Regions from separate parts of the Homo sapiens genome. Here regions 2, 3, 4, 5, 6 and 7 are each linked to region 1. Evidence: promoter capture Hi-C in 16 types of primary human blood cells and fetal thymus (Javierre and others, 2016). All regions are on one chromosome and are shown on one strand. Each heading gives the region's core, a stretch centred on a gene start or on the middle of the fragment in contact. The rest is flanking DNA. Distances are from core to core; before and after follow the strand shown. Region 1 holds the start of GPR160 (G protein-coupled receptor 160). Region 2 overlaps LRRC34 (leucine rich repeat containing 34). Region 3 has its middle 11 kb from the start of PHC3. Region 4 overlaps LRRIQ4 (leucine rich repeats and IQ motif containing 4). Region 5 overlaps LRRC34 (leucine rich repeat containing 34). Region 6 has its middle 1.7 kb from the start of SAMD7. Region 7 overlaps PHC3 (polyhomeotic homolog 3).

The links. The method cuts DNA at HindIII sites, captures the fragments that hold promoters and counts their contacts. A CHiCAGO score of 5 or more calls a contact.
Region 2: a fragment that was not itself captured here is called in contact with the fragment with the promoter of GPR160 in region 1 in 2 of 17 cell types (total B cells and naive B cells); the score reaches 7.1 in total B cells.
Region 3: a contact is called between a fragment that was not itself captured here and the fragment with the promoter of GPR160 in region 1, in 1 of 17 cell types (neutrophils). The highest score is 6.3, in neutrophils.
Region 4: a contact is called between a fragment that was not itself captured here and the fragment with the promoter of GPR160 in region 1, in 11 of 17 cell types (total B cells, naive B cells, erythroblasts and 8 more). The highest score is 13.1, in total B cells.
Region 5: a fragment that was not itself captured here is called in contact with the fragment with the promoter of GPR160 in region 1 in 7 of 17 cell types (total B cells, naive B cells, naive CD8 T cells and 4 more); the score reaches 12.4 in total B cells.
Region 6: a fragment that was not itself captured here is called in contact with the fragment with the promoter of GPR160 in region 1 in 1 of 17 cell types (total B cells); the score reaches 6.8 in total B cells.
Region 7: a contact is called between a fragment that was not itself captured here and the fragment with the promoter of GPR160 in region 1, in 6 of 17 cell types (neutrophils, total B cells, naive B cells and 3 more). The highest score is 8.1, in neutrophils.

What each region holds. Positions count from the first base shown.
Region 1 is chr3:170,036,696-170,039,395 of GRCh38, reverse strand. GPR160 (G protein-coupled receptor 160) reads right to left here and starts at 1,401. Exons shown (of 4, transcript NM_014373.3): 1 at 1,181-1,401; 2 at 353-481. RefSeq lists silencers at 377-426, 587-636, 947-1,426 and an enhancer at 22-521. The HindIII fragment of the contact is 12,490 bases long and covers 1-2,700 here.
Region 2 is chr3:169,792,668-169,795,367 of GRCh38, reverse strand. It overlaps LRRC34 (leucine rich repeat containing 34), which reads left to right. Exons shown (of 11, transcript NM_001172779.2): 11 at 1,530-2,365. The coding sequence ends at 1,733. Among named protein-coding and RNA genes, the nearest start is that of LRRIQ4, 19 kb to the left of the region's middle. RefSeq lists a cis regulatory region at 1,011 and an enhancer at 939-1,083. The HindIII fragment of the contact is 5,168 bases long and covers 1-2,700 here.
Region 3 is chr3:170,191,496-170,194,195 of GRCh38, reverse strand. No RefSeq gene overlaps it. Among named protein-coding and RNA genes, the nearest start is that of PHC3, 11 kb to the right of the region's middle. The HindIII fragment of the contact is 3,214 bases long and covers 1-2,700 here.
Region 4 is chr3:169,825,430-169,828,129 of GRCh38, reverse strand. All of the region lies in intron 2 of LRRIQ4 (leucine rich repeats and IQ motif containing 4), which reads right to left. Among named protein-coding and RNA genes, the nearest start is that of LRRC34, 14 kb to the right of the region's middle. The HindIII fragment of the contact is 169 bases long and covers 1,327-1,495 here.
Region 5 is chr3:169,809,182-169,811,881 of GRCh38, reverse strand. All of the region lies in intron 1 of LRRC34 (leucine rich repeat containing 34), which reads left to right. Among named protein-coding and RNA genes, the nearest start is that of LRRIQ4, 2.3 kb to the left of the region's middle. The HindIII fragment of the contact is 228 bases long and covers 1,137-1,364 here.
Region 6 is chr3:169,908,478-169,911,177 of GRCh38, reverse strand. No RefSeq gene overlaps it. Among named protein-coding and RNA genes, the nearest start is that of SAMD7, 1.7 kb to the left of the region's middle. The HindIII fragment of the contact is 3,064 bases long and covers 1-2,700 here.
Region 7 is chr3:170,170,888-170,173,587 of GRCh38, reverse strand. PHC3 (polyhomeotic homolog 3) reads left to right here. Exons shown (of 15, transcript NM_024947.4): 3 at 876-1,031; 4 at 2,138-2,215. Among named protein-coding and RNA genes, the nearest start is that of PHC3, 9.5 kb to the left of the region's middle. The HindIII fragment of the contact is 1,241 bases long and covers 756-1,996 here.

The sequences.
Region 1 (2,700 bases), core at 152-2,651:
TCAGGATCCAACCAACGTCCACACCTTGTATTGCCACCGAATTTCTCTTAAATCGTTTTGAAACTGCACACAGGTCCTCCTCCCTGCAATTCGCATAGCAACCAAGCTGATCCTCACTGACAATTTCCAAATAACTATAATAACTCTATTCTGGAGATATCACAAGTGCCGGTCTTAGAGCTTGTCAAATGTATACATATATGTTTATATTTATATATAAATGCACAAAAGCACACAAGAAACCATTTCACTCGAAGCAATAACAATCCTGAGAGCTAAACACTCGTTCATGTCTTTTGTGATGCTTCTCGGTGGGGGTTATCTCTGGGATTTAAGCGACACTTCCCCTTACCGGAGACATTTGCGCAAGTGTAGGACGAAGCGAGAGCGGTTCCTTCCAGCCGAACCTGCCTCCGGAGGCCCGGTCCGTGCGTTCGTCTCCGGACTGCAGGGGGCGGCCCTGCCACCACCTCGAGGCCACCTGCGCAGGTGAGAAAAGGAGTTTCAGTCTCCGGGTTCCTGGGGGTGGTCGCAGGTAATCTAGAGGGAATTTTGAGCCAGCCAGGATGGTCATCCAGGAACCTACCCGGACGCAACGGCCTCGGAAAACAAATAGCCGGGCAAGGCCCTGGGGCTTAATCCCAGTGGCGGGCGCGGGCGGGGGCGCCGTCCCCAACGCTCGAGGCCAGGGGAGGGGAGGCAAAGTCGGCCCCAATGAATGCACGCACGCGCGCGCGCGCGCGTGTGTGTGAGACTATTCACCTCTGGGCGCCAGGAAAGAGCGAAGAGTTGCATACACCCATTTCTATAACCTTGCTGGGTTTGTCATGTTTAAAAAGCATCTCCCCTGGAGAGAGGGTGGCGAGTCTCTGGGTGCGGGACACGCCCATTCCCCAGACCCCCTGCCCTCAAACCCACGACAGACCCCAGTTGCTAAGGCTCCGCGGTAATCCCCATCCCGAAGCAGGAAGGCTCGGGCGTCCGGGCTCCACTCCTGGATCTCTTAAGTAGCAGAGAACCCCCAGCCCCTGAGTTCCTGCAAAGGAAATTCCTTCCCCTCCCAGGCGCGCTGAACGCCCGGCCAGGGAGGCTGGGAGCGGCGCGGGGACCGTTCGCCGCCCCGAGGCTGGGACGCCGGTGGCGAGAGCGCCGGGCGCCCTCCACCTGCGCCCGCACTCACCCGAGGATCGATGGCTGTCGGCTCCGCAAGGTTGAGGCCCCGACACCTGCAGCGCCCGTGCCCAGGTGACCGCCCGAGGGAGGGGCGAGGGCCCAGCTCGCCCGCCTGGTCCCGCCCCGCCCCGCCCCGCCCCGCGCGCTCCCGGGAGGGGCAGGGGAGCACGGCCCCGGGACCCCGCGGCGACCCTGCTGTGGCTCAGCCGGCTCCAGACCAGGAAATGCGGGCGTCAGAGACGGGCAACCTTTGAGCGCGCACGTCCCGTCCGGGCCCAACGAAACAAGGGCCGGAGGGCGCCGCCTGCCGGCGGGACGGAAAGATATCACAGAGACTGTCACCCCCCGCCGGCTAGGAGAGGGCTGAGTTGAGGCTGGCAGAGGGACGCAGCCAGGGGTGCGCAGTGCGGGAGCCGCTTGGGGGCTCAGTGAGACCCCCTTCCTCATGCCACATCTTGAGGACCCGGCCCCTGTCCTAGGAGCTCCCCATCTCCCCAGCAGGCGGGCGAGCGGGGGCCACTGGGTCAGGGCCTCTCCTTCCCTTACCTCTGCAAATGTAAACTTGGCAGTTGTCTCCAGATAAGAGTTTACACAGGGTGGCCAGGCGGTGGCTCATGCCTGTAATCCTAGCACTTTGGGAGGTCAAGGTGGGCGGATCACTTGAGGTCAGGAGTTTGAGACCAGCCTGGCCAACATGGTCCACGTTGGTCCCCATGTCTACTAAAAATACAAAAATTAGCCGGGCTTGGTGGCACGCACCTGTAATCCCAGCTATTTGGGAAGCTGAGGCACGAGAATCGCTTGAACCCAGGAGGCGGAGGTTGCAGTGAGCTAAGACCGCACCACTGCACTCCAGCCTGGGCAGCAACAGCAAGACTCCGTATCAAAAAAAAAAAAAAAAAAAAAAAAAAAAAAAAAAAAGAGTATACACAGGGTGACAGAACTTCTTGAAACTTGTATGCTTCTAAGCAACCGCCTGCAGTGTACTGTGAATTCAGATTTTTAAATAAAAATCTGCAAATATTAAATAGCCCATATATTGCATTGCCTTTTTTGTGTCAACAGTGCTAATTTGTTGTCATTCAACAAATATTTGTTGAGCACCTACGACTTGCCGGTCATTTAAACATTTAAAATATCGAACAATTAGGCCAGCGCAGTGGCTCAAGCCTGTAATCCCAGCACTTTGGGAGGCCGAGGCGGGTGGATCACTTGAGGTCACGAGTTCAAGACCAGCCTGGCCAACATGGTGAAACCCTGCCTCTACTAAAAATACAAAAATTAGTTGGGCGTAATGGCACATGCCTGTAGTCCCAGCTACTTGGGAGGCTGAGGCAGGAGAATGACTTGAACCCAGGAGGCAGAGGTTGCAGTGAACCAAGATCACGCCATTACACTCCAGCCTGGGCAACAGAGACAGACTTCATCTGAAACAAATAAAATAAAATAAAATATTGCACAATTTCTTCCTTCTCCTCTTCACGCAGAGCCTTGAACAAGGGGAGTGTCCTGAGCCTCTCAACCTCT
Region 2 (2,700 bases), core at 103-2,602, 240 kb after region 1:
AATTAACATAAGTCTTAAAATTAACTACTAGAGAGTTTGGTGGTTCAAATAACCAAAGATATTAAAACTATGTATTAGTATTACACATCACTGAATGACACAGTTCTAATTCCTCTAAGGTTAAGAAAAATCATAATTATTGATCAGATGTAGCAAAATTTCTGATCTGCTCCCTAATAATTATACCAAAATATGGAATGGGAGAGATAGAGTACAAGCTATCAAAATATTTGGCATGTTGCTCACATAAATACAGACAGCCTTTGATACTACTTTCAAAACAGAAATAATGGTAACAGTTTTCATTTGGAAAGAACGAGGGGGAAAAAGTAGATGTTAAAATTCTCAAAATTTGCAAAAGGACTAACAAAAATTCCACCACTAAAAAGAGTAATAAAACATAGAGTGTTGTCTAAACCACCCTCCCAAAAAAACCAACCCTTACTTTTAGAAAAACATCCATAATTCTTTAGGTTCTACACATCAGTAGCTGAATAAGTTGAGTCTGGAACTGGAACTAATGATGAATGACAAGCTAAAGCAAAAACCAACTTGACTTTTAAATCTTTTAATGTCTAAATTTCCATCTTTCTCCATATTGCCAACCTTACTGACAAACCAGTTCAACGTATTTGTATGACTCTGTTACATAGATACTAAGGATCGTGGCTCATGCCTGTAATCCCAGCACTTTGGGAGGCTAAGGCGGGGGGATCACGAGGTCAAGAGATTGAGACCATCCTGGCCAACATGGTGAAACCCCATCTCTACTAAAAGTACAAAAATTAGCTGGGTGTGGTGGTGCGCTGGGCCTGTAGTCCCAGCTATTCGGGAGGCTGAGGCAGGAGAATCTCTTGAACCCAGGAGGCAGGGGTTGCAGTGAGCCGAGATCGTGCCACTGCACTCCAGCTTGGCGACAGAGCAAGACTCTGTCTCAAAAAAAAAAAAAAAGTATAAAAATTCTACAATGAAGAAATAATTAATAGGTCCGCATCCAATACTATGGAATTGTCTGTTTTAGCCTAAATCTGTAGATTAGATTCAGGGGGGTCATGAACTCTATATAATTGTATGTCCAAATCTGGGATTCCCTTAATTTTTCTGAGGAATGGGTAACTAGCTATCAGCAGATTTTTGAGAATGTATACAATAGGCCTCCTACCGAGCCCCCCTACCTATTCCAATTTATGAACATCTGTGGGACTTGAAAATTTTGACCATAGGAGCTTTGGTCCACAAAATTGGTAGTATAGAAAATCAACTCTAGGAGTCACAAAATGACAAAACATGTCTAATACATTAAAAGTTAGAAATAAGTTTTGCAATATTATAATTTCATTCTGTGTAATTAAATGAATAAAAATCTATTTACAATACCTGGAAAATATTAAAATTCAGCAATGTTATTCAGAATATTTTATTTTAAACTACAAATTAGCACAGCTAATTTGAATATTTAAATTTCCGTAAGCACTGTAAATTGAATACATTTTTTCTTAATGATATAGTTTTTTTCCTAAAAATCCTAGGCATATTCAGACTTAATTCAAATGGGTTGTCTAAAACCAGACAATACAGATGTGGAGCCATTTGTGGTAGATGGACGTGTATATCTTGCAGAAGTCTCCAATGGCCTTAAAAAGCATTATTATTGGACATCAACTTATGGAGAATCTTATGACCACTCATCTAATGCAGGTTTTGCTCTTGTTCCAGTAGGTCAACAGCCATGAAAAAGTAGCTGTAAAATAATTTTCATACACTTGTCTTATTGTTTCACAGAGATTAATATTCTATAGCCTATTTTCTTTTATAAATTAAAACAAGTTACTTTTTTCAAATGTGTAAAAGATAATGACTGTATTAAACTTTGTATAACTGTCTATTGTGAAAAACTGAGTAGGGTAATTTTTTAAAAGAAATTTTACAATATAGAGACTAAAATTCTAACCCTGGAGAAAGAGACCAAGGAACTAGACTAAATTTCTTTTTATAATGAAAATATAACCAAGTAGTGAAATAGCGTACAAGTAAAGGTCATTGTAGGTATCTAACTGAAAGTTATTAAGTAGTATTAATAAAAAGGTTTGTGGTAGAAAATTACCAGTGACTTTCAAAGGGTTTCAAAGTTCAGAAGTTGAAAAAGTATTCTACCTATCCTATTTACGTGTTACAGACAGGTGTTACTAACAATTTCATAAATACAGGCAAATATATATAAACATATACATACCCCTTTCCCAACAAGCCAGTGCTGCCAGCTCTCCCACTCTCCTCTCATAACCACTATCCTGACTTCTAACCCCACAGAGTAGTTTTGCCTGTTCTTGACCTTTATATAAATGGAAGCATACAGTATACACTCTCTTTGTGTCTGGCTTCTTTTGTTCAACATTATATTAGTATGATTCATTTATGTTGTTTCATGTAGCAGTAGTCTGTTCACTTTTCATTGCTTTGTAGTATTCCTCACATGCTGGGTAGTAGGATGTCTACCAGATTCTGGAAAGAGTTTGATTTCCCAGGCTACTGTCTCTTCCTGTGTGCTATAGAAGAGACCCACAAGTTCCCATATTCCCCCAAAGGGAGATTCAGAAGATGGCTGAAGGAGAAGCAAGTAGGCTTACCTTGAGCTTACAGTGGGGTGCAGGTGGTAAACCTGTAACCTGACCTACACTGCTGCTTGAGGCAGAGTTGCAG
Region 3 (2,700 bases), core at 116-2,615, 150 kb before region 1:
AAATTTACTGAGACTTATTTTGTGGCCTATCATATGATCTGTCTTGGAAAATGTTCCACGTGCTGAAGAGAAGAATGTTTATCCTGCAGTTCTCTGGTAGAATGTTCTGTAAATATCCGTTAGGTCCATTTGTTCTAGAGTGTAGTTTTAAATCCATTTTTTTCTTTGCCGACTTTCTGTCTTGATGATCTGTCTAATGCTGCGAGTGGAGTGTTGAAGTGCCCCACTATCATTGTGTTGCTGTCTATCTCATTTCTTAGGTCCAGTAGTAAATGTTTTATGAATCTTAGAGCTCCAGTATTGGTACATATGAATTTAGGATTGTAATATCTTCTTGTTGGATTGATCCTTTTATCATTATATAATTATCTTCTTTGTCCTTTTTTTTTTTTTTTTTACTGTTGTTGCTATTTACTTATTTATTTATTGAGACAGGGTCTGGCTTTATTGCTCAGGCAGGAGTAGAGTGGGATGATCACAGCTCACTGCAGCCTGAACCTACGACACACAAGTGATTGTCCCACTTCAGCCTCCTCATTAGCTGGGATTGCAGGCACACACCACCACACCAGGCTAATTTTTAAATTTTTTCATAGAGACAGGGTCTTGCTGTGTTGCCTAGGCTGGTCTTGAACTCCTGGGTTCAAGGGATCCTCCTGCCTCAGCCTCCCAAAGGGCTGAGATTGCAGGTGTGAACTGCCACACCTGGCTGTTGTTGCTTTAAAGTCTATCTTATCTGATAGAAGAATAGCTACTCCTGCTTGCTTTGGGTTTCCATTTGCATGGAATATCTTTATCCACTCCTTTACCTTGAGTTTATCTGAATCTTTATGTGTTATATAAGTCCCTTGAAGACAACAGATATTTGGTTTGCAATTTTTAGACCCATTCTGCCAATCTGTATCTTTTAAGTGAAGCATTTAGGCTGTTTACATTCAACATTAATATTGAGATTTGAGGCTGGGTATGGTGGTGGCTCACACCTATAATGCTAGCACTTTGGGAAGCTGAGGTGGAAGAATTACTTGAGCCCAGGAATTCCAGAGCAGCCTGGGCAACATGGCGAAACCCCATCTCTACAAAAAATACACACACACACACACACACACACACACACACACACAAACTTAACTGGGTGTGATGGTGCACACCTATAGTCCCAGCTACTCAGGAGGCTGAGGTGGGAAGCCCACTTGAGCCCAGGAGGTGGAGGTTACAGTGAGCCAAGATTGTACCACTGCACTCCAGCCCAGGTGACAGAGCAAGACCCTGTCCCCTCCCTGCAAAAAACAAAAAAACCCAAAAAGGCCATGCCTGCAATCCCAGCACTTTGGGAGGCTGAGGCGGGCAGATCACGAGGTCAAGAGATGGAGACCATCCTGGCCAACATGGGGAAACCCCGTCTCCACTAAAAATACAAAAATTAGCTGAGCATGGTGGCAGGCACCTGTAATCCAAGCTACTCGGGAGGCTGAGGCAGAAAATTGCTTGAACCAGGGAGTCAGAGGTTGCGGTAAGCCGAGATTGTGCCAATGTACTCTAGCCTGGCGCCAGAGTGAGACTCCATCTCAAAAAAAAAAAGAGAGATGTGAGGTACTGTTCCAGTCATCATGTTATTTGTTACCTAGATACTTTGTTTTATTCACTGTGTTATTGTTTTATATGCCCCATGAGTTTTATGCCATCAAGAGGTTCTACTCTAGTGCATATCAGCCTTTTGTTTCAGGATTTAGAACAGCTTTTAGCATTTCTTGTTGGGCTGGTCTGGTAGTGACAAGTTCCCTAAGCATTTGTTTGTCTGAAAATGATTTTATTTCTCCTTTATTTATGAAACTTAGTTTTGCTACATACAAAATCGTTGGCTAGGTTGGGCGTGGTGGCTCATGCCTGTAATCCTAGCACTTTGGGAGGCCAAGATGGGAGATGACTTGAGCTCAGGAGTTCAAGAGCAGCCTGGGCAGCATGGTGAAGCCCCATCTGTACAAAAAATACAAAAATTAGCCATGTGTGGTGGGATGCACTGAAGTGGGAGGGTCACCTGAGCCCAGGGAGGTTGAGGTTGCAGTGAGCCATGATCGTGCCATTCCACTCCAGCCTGGGCAAGAGAGTGAGACCCTGCCTTAAAAAAAAATTCTTAATGGGCCGGGCTTGGTGGCCCATGCCTGTAATCCCAGCACTTTGGGAGGCCGAGGTGGGTGGATCACAAGGTCAGGAGATCGAGAACATCCTGGCTAATACGGTGAAACCCCGTCTCTACTAAAAATACAAATATTAGCTGGGTGTGGTGGCGGGTGCCTGTAGTCCCAGTTACTGGGGAGGCTGAGGCAGGAGAATGGCGTGAACCCAGGAGGTGGAGCTTGCAGTGAGCCGAGATGGTGCCACTGCACTCCAGCCTGGGTGACAAAGCAAGACTCCCTCTCAAAAAAAAATTCTTGCTGGGCGTGGTGGCTCACGCCTGTAATCCCAACACTTTGGGAGGCTGAGGTGGGTGGATCATGAGGTCAGGAGTTCGAGACCAGTCTGGTCAACATAGTGAAATCCCGCCTCTACTAAAAATACAAAATTAGCAGGGCATGGTGGTGCATGCCTGTAATCCCAGCTACTTTTGAGGCTGAGGCAAGATAATCACATGAACCCAGGAGGCAGAGGTTGCAGTGAGCCGAGATCGTGCCACTGTACTCCAGCCTGGGCGACAGAGCG
Region 4 (2,700 bases), core at 162-2,661, 210 kb after region 1:
AATATTCATTATAAATTCAGTTATTGGAACTAATAAATTTAGTGATATGACTCTTCATCCTAAAAGGCTTTAATAATTTTGAAACTTCAGTTGAAATCTCAGTTGGAGGCAAACATATATTCACACCATTTCTAATCAGTGTTCAGTGAACTCCATTATGATCCTATCGTGTCATGTTCTGCTTTTCAGTGAATACCCAGGCTTGTGTAACCTGTGTGGGAACTGGGTCGGCATTTCACAGAGTGCCACACTTTCAGGGCTGGAACGCCTTAAGAAGGTTCTCTATTTCAACCTTCTAATACAGTGCTTGCATACTTTTTATAGCGAGCCATCCAGTTTTATCTAAACACCACCTCCTGTGAAGAAAAGCTCATTATCTTCTATGGCTACTTCTAATCATCAGATTTCCTACTTTAGTACAGCCAAAATCAGCTTCACCATTATGTCCGTCTATCGGTTTCTTTCTGGACCATGGGAGACCACATGGGAAAAAAATCTCTTTTTTTTTTTTTTTTTTTTTTTTGAGACGGAGTCTCGCTCTGCCGCCCAGGCTGGAGTGCAGTGGCGCGATCTCGGCTCACTGCAAGCTCCGCTTCCCGGGTTCACGCCATTCTCCTGCCTCAGCCTCCCGAGTAGCTGGGACTACAGGCGCCCACCACCACGCCCGGCTAATTTTTTGTATTTTTAGTAGAGACGGGGTTTCACCATGTCAGCCAGGATGGTCTCGATCTCCTGACCTCGTGGTCCGCCCGCCTAGGCCTCCCAAAGTGCTGAGATTACAGGCATGAGCCACCGCACCCGGCGAAAAAATCTCATTCTTAAAATATGTGACAATCACCCTATTGACTGTGTTACAGAGATGCCTTATTTTCTCGTAGAAAAAAATCCCAGCTATATAGCTCAACAGCTCCTTAACTCATATGTTCCTTTATCTGGCTTAATTCCTAACTGGGAAATCCTTCCCCACAGTTCCCTGCTTGAGCCCATGGGCATTCTTCCCATCCATTCCCTAGTCAGCCACCCTACTTTCATTCTGGCTAGAGCTCAGCTGAGCCACTCCCACCCCCACCTCTCTATGGATGGGTGGAATAGACAGGTAATTGGTGAATGGGTCACTTACAGTTGGAGAAAAAGAAAGTTCACTGAGGACAACCTATCTGTAAAAGTTTCACATACTTGGAATCTTCCATAATGCATTTTTCTCTTTTTTGTGTAGAGTAAGGACTCATTTTCCTAAAAATGCTGTAACAGTTTTCCAGTTTTATTTATTTACCTATTTATTTTAATTAGATGAAGTCAATCTTTGGAGAAACTGATGTTTAAGCTTTCCTCTTTGGCTATTTCAAAATTCTTCATCAAGCACTTAGATGTCTTCAATACAAAATGCCTGCATTCTGTGCAGTCCAAAACAATGAAAAAAGATTTTTCAATCTAACCATTTTATTATAACCTAGAAATTTCATTCTTATTGCTGTTCACTTAACTCATAAAAGCTTAGCTTTTCTTTTTCAAAGCACATTGAATGTTCAAAAATTTTTTTTAGGAGTATTTAAGATCCAGTAGTTAGTTTCATCATAGTCATAGTAAAGTATAATGAGAAGAAATCTAGATGTATAGAAAATCTGTAGAGCATTAGATGAGGACAATTACTGATGACACTGTAACTGACATATAGCCATTTTGGGATCTGGTACATTGTTTTGGTTTTTTCCTTTTTCTTTTTCTTTTTTTTTTTTTGAGGCGGAGTTTCACTCTTCTTGCCTCGGCTGGACGGCAATGGTACAATCTTGGCTCATTGCAACCTCTGCCTCCTGGGTTCAAGCGATTCTCCTGCCTCAACCTCCCGAGTAGCTGGGATTACAGGTGCCCACTACCATGCCCGGCTAATTTTTGTATTTTTAGTAGAGATGGGGTTTCGCCACGTTGGCCAGGCTGGTCTCAAACTCCTGACCTCAGTTGATCCACTCGCCTCATCCTCCCAAAGTGTTGTGATTACAGGCGTGAGTCACCGCACGTGGCCTGCTTTTCTCCTTTAATAGAAGTATACTCTACAAATAAAATCCATCTAGGTACACATTGAAAATCAGATATTTTTTGCATGCACACAGGCAAGTAGAAGCTACTGGTTAGGCTTTAAGAGCTAGTAACCCATGAGTTGAGTCTTTGGGGAGGGAGAGATAATGAGCTGGCTTAAAGGCCATGTTTCATTGAGGAGAGAAATGCATTGGAAGGTGGTATTAGCATAAGAGGAAATTGAGAAGGGAGGACAAATGCACACACACACACAAAACCCATCAGAATAACTGAAGAGGAAAAAGCACTGGTACACAGAGATTGTCATGTTCAATACAATAATATTTAACATGTCTACATTTCAGTGCAGTTTGACTTGTGCTAAAACTTGGTATTGGATGAAGCTTATTTTTGTTAACAAGCAGTCTGTGTGTGATTTGCTCCTTTGATTTCTTAAAATTTCTCTCAGAAAAGGATTAGGTATTATTCATGGCTCAGTATAATGTGTTATCCCTCCCACATGTACTTTATATTTTAAGTCTTTCACTCCAACTGCAGAATGACTGACTTAGTCCACTAAAAGGAATTTCTTACATCAGCAGTGGAATAGTTCAGGGCCGGGCTCTCACGGAACCTCAAAAATCCTCCAAGGTGAGTTGCTACATCAGTGGAGATTAAGTCCTAGAA
Region 5 (2,700 bases), core at 1-2,500, 230 kb after region 1:
CTGTTTGTGGATACGGAACTGTGTTCGGAGGCTGGCTTAATAATACTGCATCCAGGAGATGGGCAGTGTTAGGCTCTGCCTTTAGCATGAGAGGAAATTTAAGCTGGCATAACAACTTGTTCAAATGTACACACTGCGGATTCTGGATAGGGCACCCACGTTCTGACTCATGCTTATCGCTTAGATTTCCCAGTGCTTGGCTAAGTATAGAAAAGCATGTTTTGGAGGGATCTACCTCCTAAGTAAGTCCTCTCTCTGGAAATTGTTAAAACGTGGCTGCCAGAGGCGTGGATGAAAAAATGAAATTTGGGTTAGGTTCTTGACATTTTCCTGCGTAGCTGGGTTATTTCCTAGTTTTTGCTTTACAATTTGAAGGCTATTTTCCTTCTAATATGAATACAATATAGGAAATAAATTCATTGGTGCCACAAAATCCTGGCATACAAAATACGTAGGTGAATTTTAAATCAAAGGAAGGGTAGCAGAAACTTTTAAATACTGTAAATCTCTGGCTAGCTTGTTAAATAAGAATATTTCCATAACTTTGTTTAGCTGTATTTAGCTCGTAGTCTAAGATTCCTTCATGCCTTCGCGAAAATGAATTGTAGTCTGACACATTTCTGTGCCCTCGGAGATTCTCAGGGCAATTTTTCTCTTAATACCAAGGAAGACAGTAGGGAAGAAAGAAGCCCAGTGGGAGCCCAGCTCCAACTTCTATTTGGGATCTACTTGCTTTGTTTCCTGGGGAGGACGCTAAAGCAGCATTTTCTAGATTGCATTCCAAGTGAGGTTTTTGTTTTGTTTTGTTTTTGAGATGGAGTCTCCTCTGTCGCCCAGGCTGGAGTGCAGTGGCGCGATCTCTGCCCACTGCAACCTTGTAACCTCCACCTCCCGCATTCAAGCGATTCTGTCGCCTCAGCCTCCGAAGTAGCTGGGACTACAGGCATGCGCCACCACACCAGCTAATTTTTGTATTTTTGGTAGAGATAGGGTTTCACCATATTGGCCAGGCTGGTCTCGAACTCCTGGCCTCAAGTGATCCGCTCGCCTCGGCCTCCCAAAGTGCTGGGATTACAGGCGTAAGCCACCGCACCCGGCCGGAAATGCAGCATTCTTATCCTCCCTATTCTCAAGCTTAACAGTTTGCAGAGTGTGCACGTTTTAAATGCCCTGAGAAGTGTTGTGTCTGTGTATAGTTTTGTTTATTTTAGTACTTCTCAGACTTACTTGATAATAAGACCTATTCTATTTGGAACACCTTTGATCATCCTGTAGAACATGCATATTCCACAAAATACAGTTTGGGAAATATTGTGCTACAATATCATTTAAATACATGAAAATTTTCTAAAATAGGTGAAGCTTTTTTTAATACGTACATCTATCCACATGACAGAAATTATGCTATTTAAATTTTTCAGAGAATATCTAGTGACATGGGAAAACTGCTTACAATATAATGTTAATTTAAAAAACAGCATATAAAGTTATATCCAAAGATTCCAATTTTGTTTAAAAAATACTTAATATGCATATAAAAGAAAAACTATAGGAAGTATGTATGCCTAGACCTCAATTGTGGTTGTTCTTTGGCAGTGGGATTGCAGATTAACATGTATTTTTTTTTAATGTTAGAAATTTCCGGTCGGGCTCAGTGGCTCACCTGTAATCCCAGCACTTTGGGAGGCTGAGGCAGGCTGATCACTTGAGGTCAGGAGTTTGAGACCAGCCTGGCCAACATGGTGAAACCCCGTCTTTATAGCTGGGTGTGGTGGTGTGTGCCTGTAGTCCCAGCTACTCGGGAGGCTGAGGCAGGAGAATCGCTTGAACCCGGGAGGCAGAGGTTGCAGTGAGCCGAGATTGCGCTCCTGCTCTCCAGCTTGGGTGGCAGATCAAGAACCTATCTCAAAAAAAAAAAAAAAAGAAATTTCCAAATTGTCTGGAATAAGTATATTAAATTTATTTTTAAAAAGGTTATTAAAAACTATAAGAAAATTTTGTTTGCTTTCATCTGAAATGTAATGTTCCTCATGTTAAATCTCGTTCTGCAGATCCGTTTAGCAAACTCATTATTCTTCAGAGTGCAAAGGACACTCAGTAAACAACATTTCTGAGATGTAGAGACTTAGAAGAGAAGCCAGCTCCTAAAAAGCTAGGCTGGTTGAGCAATGAGATCTCTGTGCACAAATTTTTAAAAGACATCCACAAAAGGTAGATGTATAGAAAACAAAGACAGTGGCCTGTACTTCTAAGAAAAGTAACAGCATAACTTCCACCCCAGAAGATGTAGGCCTTGCAGAAGATGCTTTTGAGGTATTACTGAGAACAGCAAGGTCATTAAGGAAATCTGCATGTATAACAGAAAGGAGATCTCAACTCCTGCTTTGTGTCTGTCTTCTTAAGAACTTAGGGAAAAGTCACCTTTAGAAAGAGGAAATGGAAGGCTGGGTAGGAGAAGAGCTTCTGTGAGCCAGGCCTCGATTTGGTATGAAGAAATGACAGTTACATTCAAACTTGGGATGGTGTAGAGGGTATCCAAGAAGCTTGTGGGAGTAGGTGCTTTATCAGATCCCTTTTGAGTTAGGTTATTAGATAAAATTGTTTTTATGTGAAGCTATTTTAAGAAACCTTTTCCTCTCGTGGATGCTGAGATACTGAGTTGAAAAAAAAAAAAAAAAAAAAGAAACCTTGAGTCCCTGT
Region 6 (2,700 bases), core at 191-2,690, 130 kb after region 1:
CACGGAATTTTGAAAATGTGACCTGTTATATTTGCTAGAGAAACATTTATAGCTTGAAAAAGAACATCCATATTTTTTGATTCCTAGTAATTTACTAGTAGGAAGTACAAAATAAGAATTGAATATAAGAAATTTAAGTTGTGTTTCAAGTAATGCTTTAGGCTTCCAGTTTGAAGGTAACCTGCTCCTTTGTTGACACACATTTTTATCATTGGCTGTTGAACTCATTATAAGAAATAGCATGTGGAACTGACTGTATTTATTCCAGGGTTATTGTTCATAAAGCAGTGGTCAACAGCAGGGACTTAGATGACCAACAGACTCAATAAGCCTCAGCACCACCACTCATTAGCTGTATGGCCTGGCCAAGTTACTGAACTTCTCTGAGCCTTAGTTTCCTCATCTCAGAAGAGCCCTTCTTGGGAAAGGGAAGGCAACAAGGTAGACAAAATGCTTGAATAGTTCTCACTAAACATTAGCCATTATGTTAGGTAACTATATTGCACAGAGTCCTCTGTTGAGGATCCATGGGAGGAATTTTTCTCAGCTTGTAGTACTAGGGACAATTGTTTTGTTGTTGTTATTGTTGTTGTTGTTGTTCTGAAAAATAAGGCCAAAATAAAACCTCAGGAATCACGTAACTAGTGTGTTGCATTCTTTGTGTTGGTTAGTAGGAAGTTCAGGACCTGCCTTTAGGCATGCATTTTATTATATTTTTATTTATTTATTTTTGAGACAAGTTCTTGCTCTGCCACCCAGGCTAGAGTGCAGTGGCACAATCATGGCTCACTGTAGCCTCTATGTCCCCAGACTCAAGCAATCCTCCCACCGTAGCCTCCAAGTAGCTGGGACCACTGGTGCACGACCGCATGCCTGGCTAATTTTTTTTCTGTATTTTTTTGTAGAGACAGGCTTTCGCCATGTTGCCTAGGCTGGTCTTGAACTCCTGGACTCTAGCAATCCACCCACCTCGGCCTCCCAATGTACTGGGATTATAGGCGTGAGCCACCATGCCCAGCCTAGACATGCATTTTAAAACCAGAAATGATCTATGGCTTCATCTTATTTTTCCTAACATTATTTTCCCTTTGCCCTAATTTTTACTAAACTGTCTTTCTTGTGTTGTATATGCATTTTGAAGTGTCTCATAAATTATTAGCATTTATAATATTTATGCATACAGTTTTTGTTTTTTTTTGTTGTTGTTGTTTGTTTGTTTTTTTGAGACAGAGTCTCACTCTGTCACCCAGGCTGGAGTGCTGTGGCGTGATCTCAGCTCACTGCAAGCTCCACCTCCCGGGTTCACGCCATTCTCCTGCCTCAGCCTCCTGAGTAGCTGGGACTACAGGCGCCCGCCACCATGCCCAGCTAATTTTTTTTTTTTTGTATTTTTAGTAGAGACGGGGTTTCACCGTGTTAGCCAGAATGGTCTCGATCTCCTAACCTTGTGATCTGCCCACCTCAGCCTCCCAAAGTGCTGGGATTACAGGTGTGAGCCACTGCGCCCCGCCCTAATGCATATACTTTGTTTGTAATCACTCTGGTAGTCTCATATTAGAAGAGCTTGTATCTGAAAGACTTGCTTATACATTGTTCAACAGAAACTTATAAATGTATTGTTTTCATAGAAGCAACATCATAAGGAGTAATTAGGTTTGCACCAGCCCATAAACATCAATCTAACAGTGTAACAGCGGTACTCATTCCAACATAGAGCCACCATTTATATTTCTGTTTCTCTGGAAAATGTGATCAGTGTTATCAGTGGGGTTCATTAACGACATTTACTCCTGACTCAGCTCCGGTGAGTTCCCAAGACCCTCACTTGCGGTTGTTACTCCTCTTACTCCCCACACAAGCTCCTGCTATGATGGTGGGGCTGAGACTGTGTTAAAGAAGGAACTCTGGCAGGTGGAATGAGGTGAGTTAGAGGCTTCTAGAGTCTGAGGCTGATTGGAAGTGGGAGAGAAAAGGTAGGAACTTCCTTGTATTCAGTTAGTGCATACCAGTCTGGCTATGCCGATTGTTAAAATACTGACATTTTCCCACACCGGTTGGAAAATAGCCACTGCCCTGAGCCCCTAACTGCTCACCCACCCCAGTTGCTCCTGGACAACCTCTCCCCGCAGTGCAACATCTAAAGGGGTAGTTCCTAACGCAGCCGGGGGCAGGCAGCTCCTGCTTGGGCACCTCAGCCAGCCTCCGGTTGCAAACAAACCAGTCAGTTCTGGAGGTGATTACCCACTAAATGAGAGGGATCACAGTGCGGAGGAGTGGGAGGGCCCACAGGTCTCTGGCTATTTTGGGACTAATTGGAAGAAGCTCCACCGGAAGAGAGGAACAGGTGACAATAAGCCACCAGCAATGGCCTTGGGGATTATTTGTTAGTCATTCAGGAGTGTTGTAAATTTGCGCCCTACACTCTGTACAAAGAAAAGCCTTTTTACTTTCCTGCAATTGATCTAGTATCCCTCCAAAATCCTACTCTCTGGGTAAGAGGTGAAGACTACATTTAGTCAAATCTGGTCAATTCCAACTTATTCAACAATATAAGGAGACAATGTTTCACATGTAACATAGTCTCTTCCAAGATGAAATTGTCTCTTTTGGATTTTTAATTCATCTCCCTTTCTTCCCCAAGATGACACGTGAGATGACACGTGTCCTGGCGATGGGAAAGTGGAGGATGGGGTATCAGAG
Region 7 (2,700 bases), core at 127-2,626, 130 kb before region 1:
CAATTCTTTAGTTGCACTAACCACATTTTAAGTGCTCAGTAGGCACATGTGACTAGTTGTTACTGTATAGGACAGCACTGATCTACATTACTATTTGTTATGGTTGCATGGTAAAGGTATTTCTCTCCACACCCAAGCCCTGAATTCTACGAAGTTTTATCCAAAAAGGTTATGCCAACTTGAATTTTTACTAGCAATATGGGAGTATTGGTTTCCCCAGGTAGTAGTAGTATTCTTTTAAATCTTTATCCATCTGAAAGTTGGAAAACAGTATCTTGTTTTAATTTGTAAGTTTTTGACTACTGGTGAGATTGAAAATCTTTTGAAATGCTTAGTTGGCCTGGCCTGTCTTTTGCGAATTGTCCACTGGGTTTTGTTTTGTTTTTTTTTTTTTGAGATGGGAGTCTTGCTGTGTCGCCCAGGCTGGAGTGCAGTGGCATGATCTTGGCTCAACTGCAGCCTTCACCTCACAGGTTCAAGCGATTCTCCTGCCTCAGCCTCCCGAGTAGCTGGGGCTACAGGCATGTGCCACCATGCCTGGCTAATTTTTTGTGTTTTTAGTAGAGACGGGGTTTCACCATGTTAGCCAGGATGGTCTTGATCTCCTGACCTTGTGATCCGCCCACCTCGGCCTCCCAAAGTGCTGGAATTAACAGGCGTGAGCCACCGTGCCCGGCCCACTGGGTAGTTTTAATGTGTACAAGTTAGTGATTTCTAGTGATATGTAACTAGGAAAGAAATAATGTTAATAAGCTTGATGATATTATGTATTAAAGCAGTGAAATTTTAAACTGCCACTTTTTTATACTTTGATTTTCTGATTAAGATAAAGGTTGAGATTATGGTTTGACATTGGTTCAATTGACTTATCACAGGTAATTCAACAGGCATTGCATCGGCCCCCCAGCTCAGCTGCTCAGTACCTTCAGCAAATGTATGCAGCCCAACAACAGCACTTGATGCTGCATACTGCAGCTCTTCAGCAGCAGCATTTAAGCAGCTCCCAGCTTCAGAGCCTTGCTGCTGTTCAGGTAAGACTAAAATAAGAGTTTATGAGATCAAAGTTTCTGTTATCTGTAGGTAGTTACTGAAAATAAATAGATTGGGTATTATTTCAGAGTTCTCAGATGTCCTGTGGTTATTTTTCCCGGAGGAAATATATTAATAGGTTGCCGAATAGAAGTTAATTGAGAAAAAGGGGATATGTTTTTTTATGTTACTCTGTTTCTAGCTTTTGTCTCAGTGCTTTTTATCCAGATTGAAGAAATGCTATGCTAGTTTATGTGTATAAAGTTCTAGGTACAACAGTGAGTACTTAGGCTTACATAAATTGTATTTTTACTAAAAATAAGATTAAAAAAATTATATAAGTAATTATACTCATTAAAAAATCAAACAATATTAAGTTGTTTATAAGAGATAAAGTAAAGCTGTTCCTTTTCCCTGTCTATCACTGTTTCCCGTTCTTCAAAGGTGGCCACAGTAACAATCTAATACATATTTCTCCAGAAATTTTTTATACAAAGATAGGTATATCCATTTTTCTAAAATCCAATCATATTATTCCTACTGATAACAGGATTTCATTATTAAATGCTTGTTTTTAAAAAAGATTTTTGTTACTATTGTACTATTTAAATAAAGCTGTGTAAGATTTAATCTTAAATCCCCTCACCAGAGGAGGATCTCAATTGACTGAACCTGAAAAAGGTTTATTTCTGTTACCAACAGATTCTCAGCTGTTGCTTCTTAGTAGTGTAATTTTTAAATAACATGTTTGTGATACAAGTTAGGAAACTGAAACCCACTCACTGGCTCTTGCTGTAGCTCTAATTTCTTTTTCATAACTCTGGAGTAGTGATTCCACTTTAAAGATGACAGAGACCCATAAAGTGAAACTGACAATAAAGTAGCTAATAAAATAAGATTAGTCTTTGGATCCCCTGTTTTCACCATTCAGCTTTTCCTTATTTAAAAAATCTGTTTAACCGAAGCTTAAGCCATGTTGACTATAAAATTAGTTGTTTCATACATAGGCCTTTTGACATTTATTGTTGTGGTTTTGTGTTATCATGGTACCAGAAAGTTCTTAACTTCAGGTTTTTACCGACATATTCTAAAAGTCTTACTATTTTAGGCAAGTTTGTCCAGTGGAAGACCATCTACATCTCCCACAGGAAGTGTCACACAGCAGTCAAGTATGTCCCAAACGTCTGTAAGTTCCCTAAATTTTTTTTTCCTGGATTTAAAATTTTAAAGAATTGTTTTCCAAAAGTAAACTGTTGTTATTTATGAAGCTGTTATTATAATTTGTTGCATGCTGTTTAAAGTAACAATTGCCCAGAAATAGAAATGATAAAATTCAAGAATTCAGAACTAATGTTAAACTTATGAAAATCTGAGTCTTAAAAAAATCTTTTTGTATTATTTCTTGTATATCCATTTGCACTGATCATGTTCAGATCTTATGTGGTTTCAGCTTTCTGTGTGTATTGAAAGCCTAAAATATACAATGCAGGGATATTGGCCATGAATTTACTGTGATATACAATAGTATGTCATGTCCTTGGTAGACATCTAAGCATTTCTAACTTTGTGCAATTCACATTTTAGAAATTATACTTTCAGCTTACATGAGTTATTTGGGTTCAATTTGCAAGTATCCATTCAAGATAGGGTAATTTATTTTGAGAAAGGAGT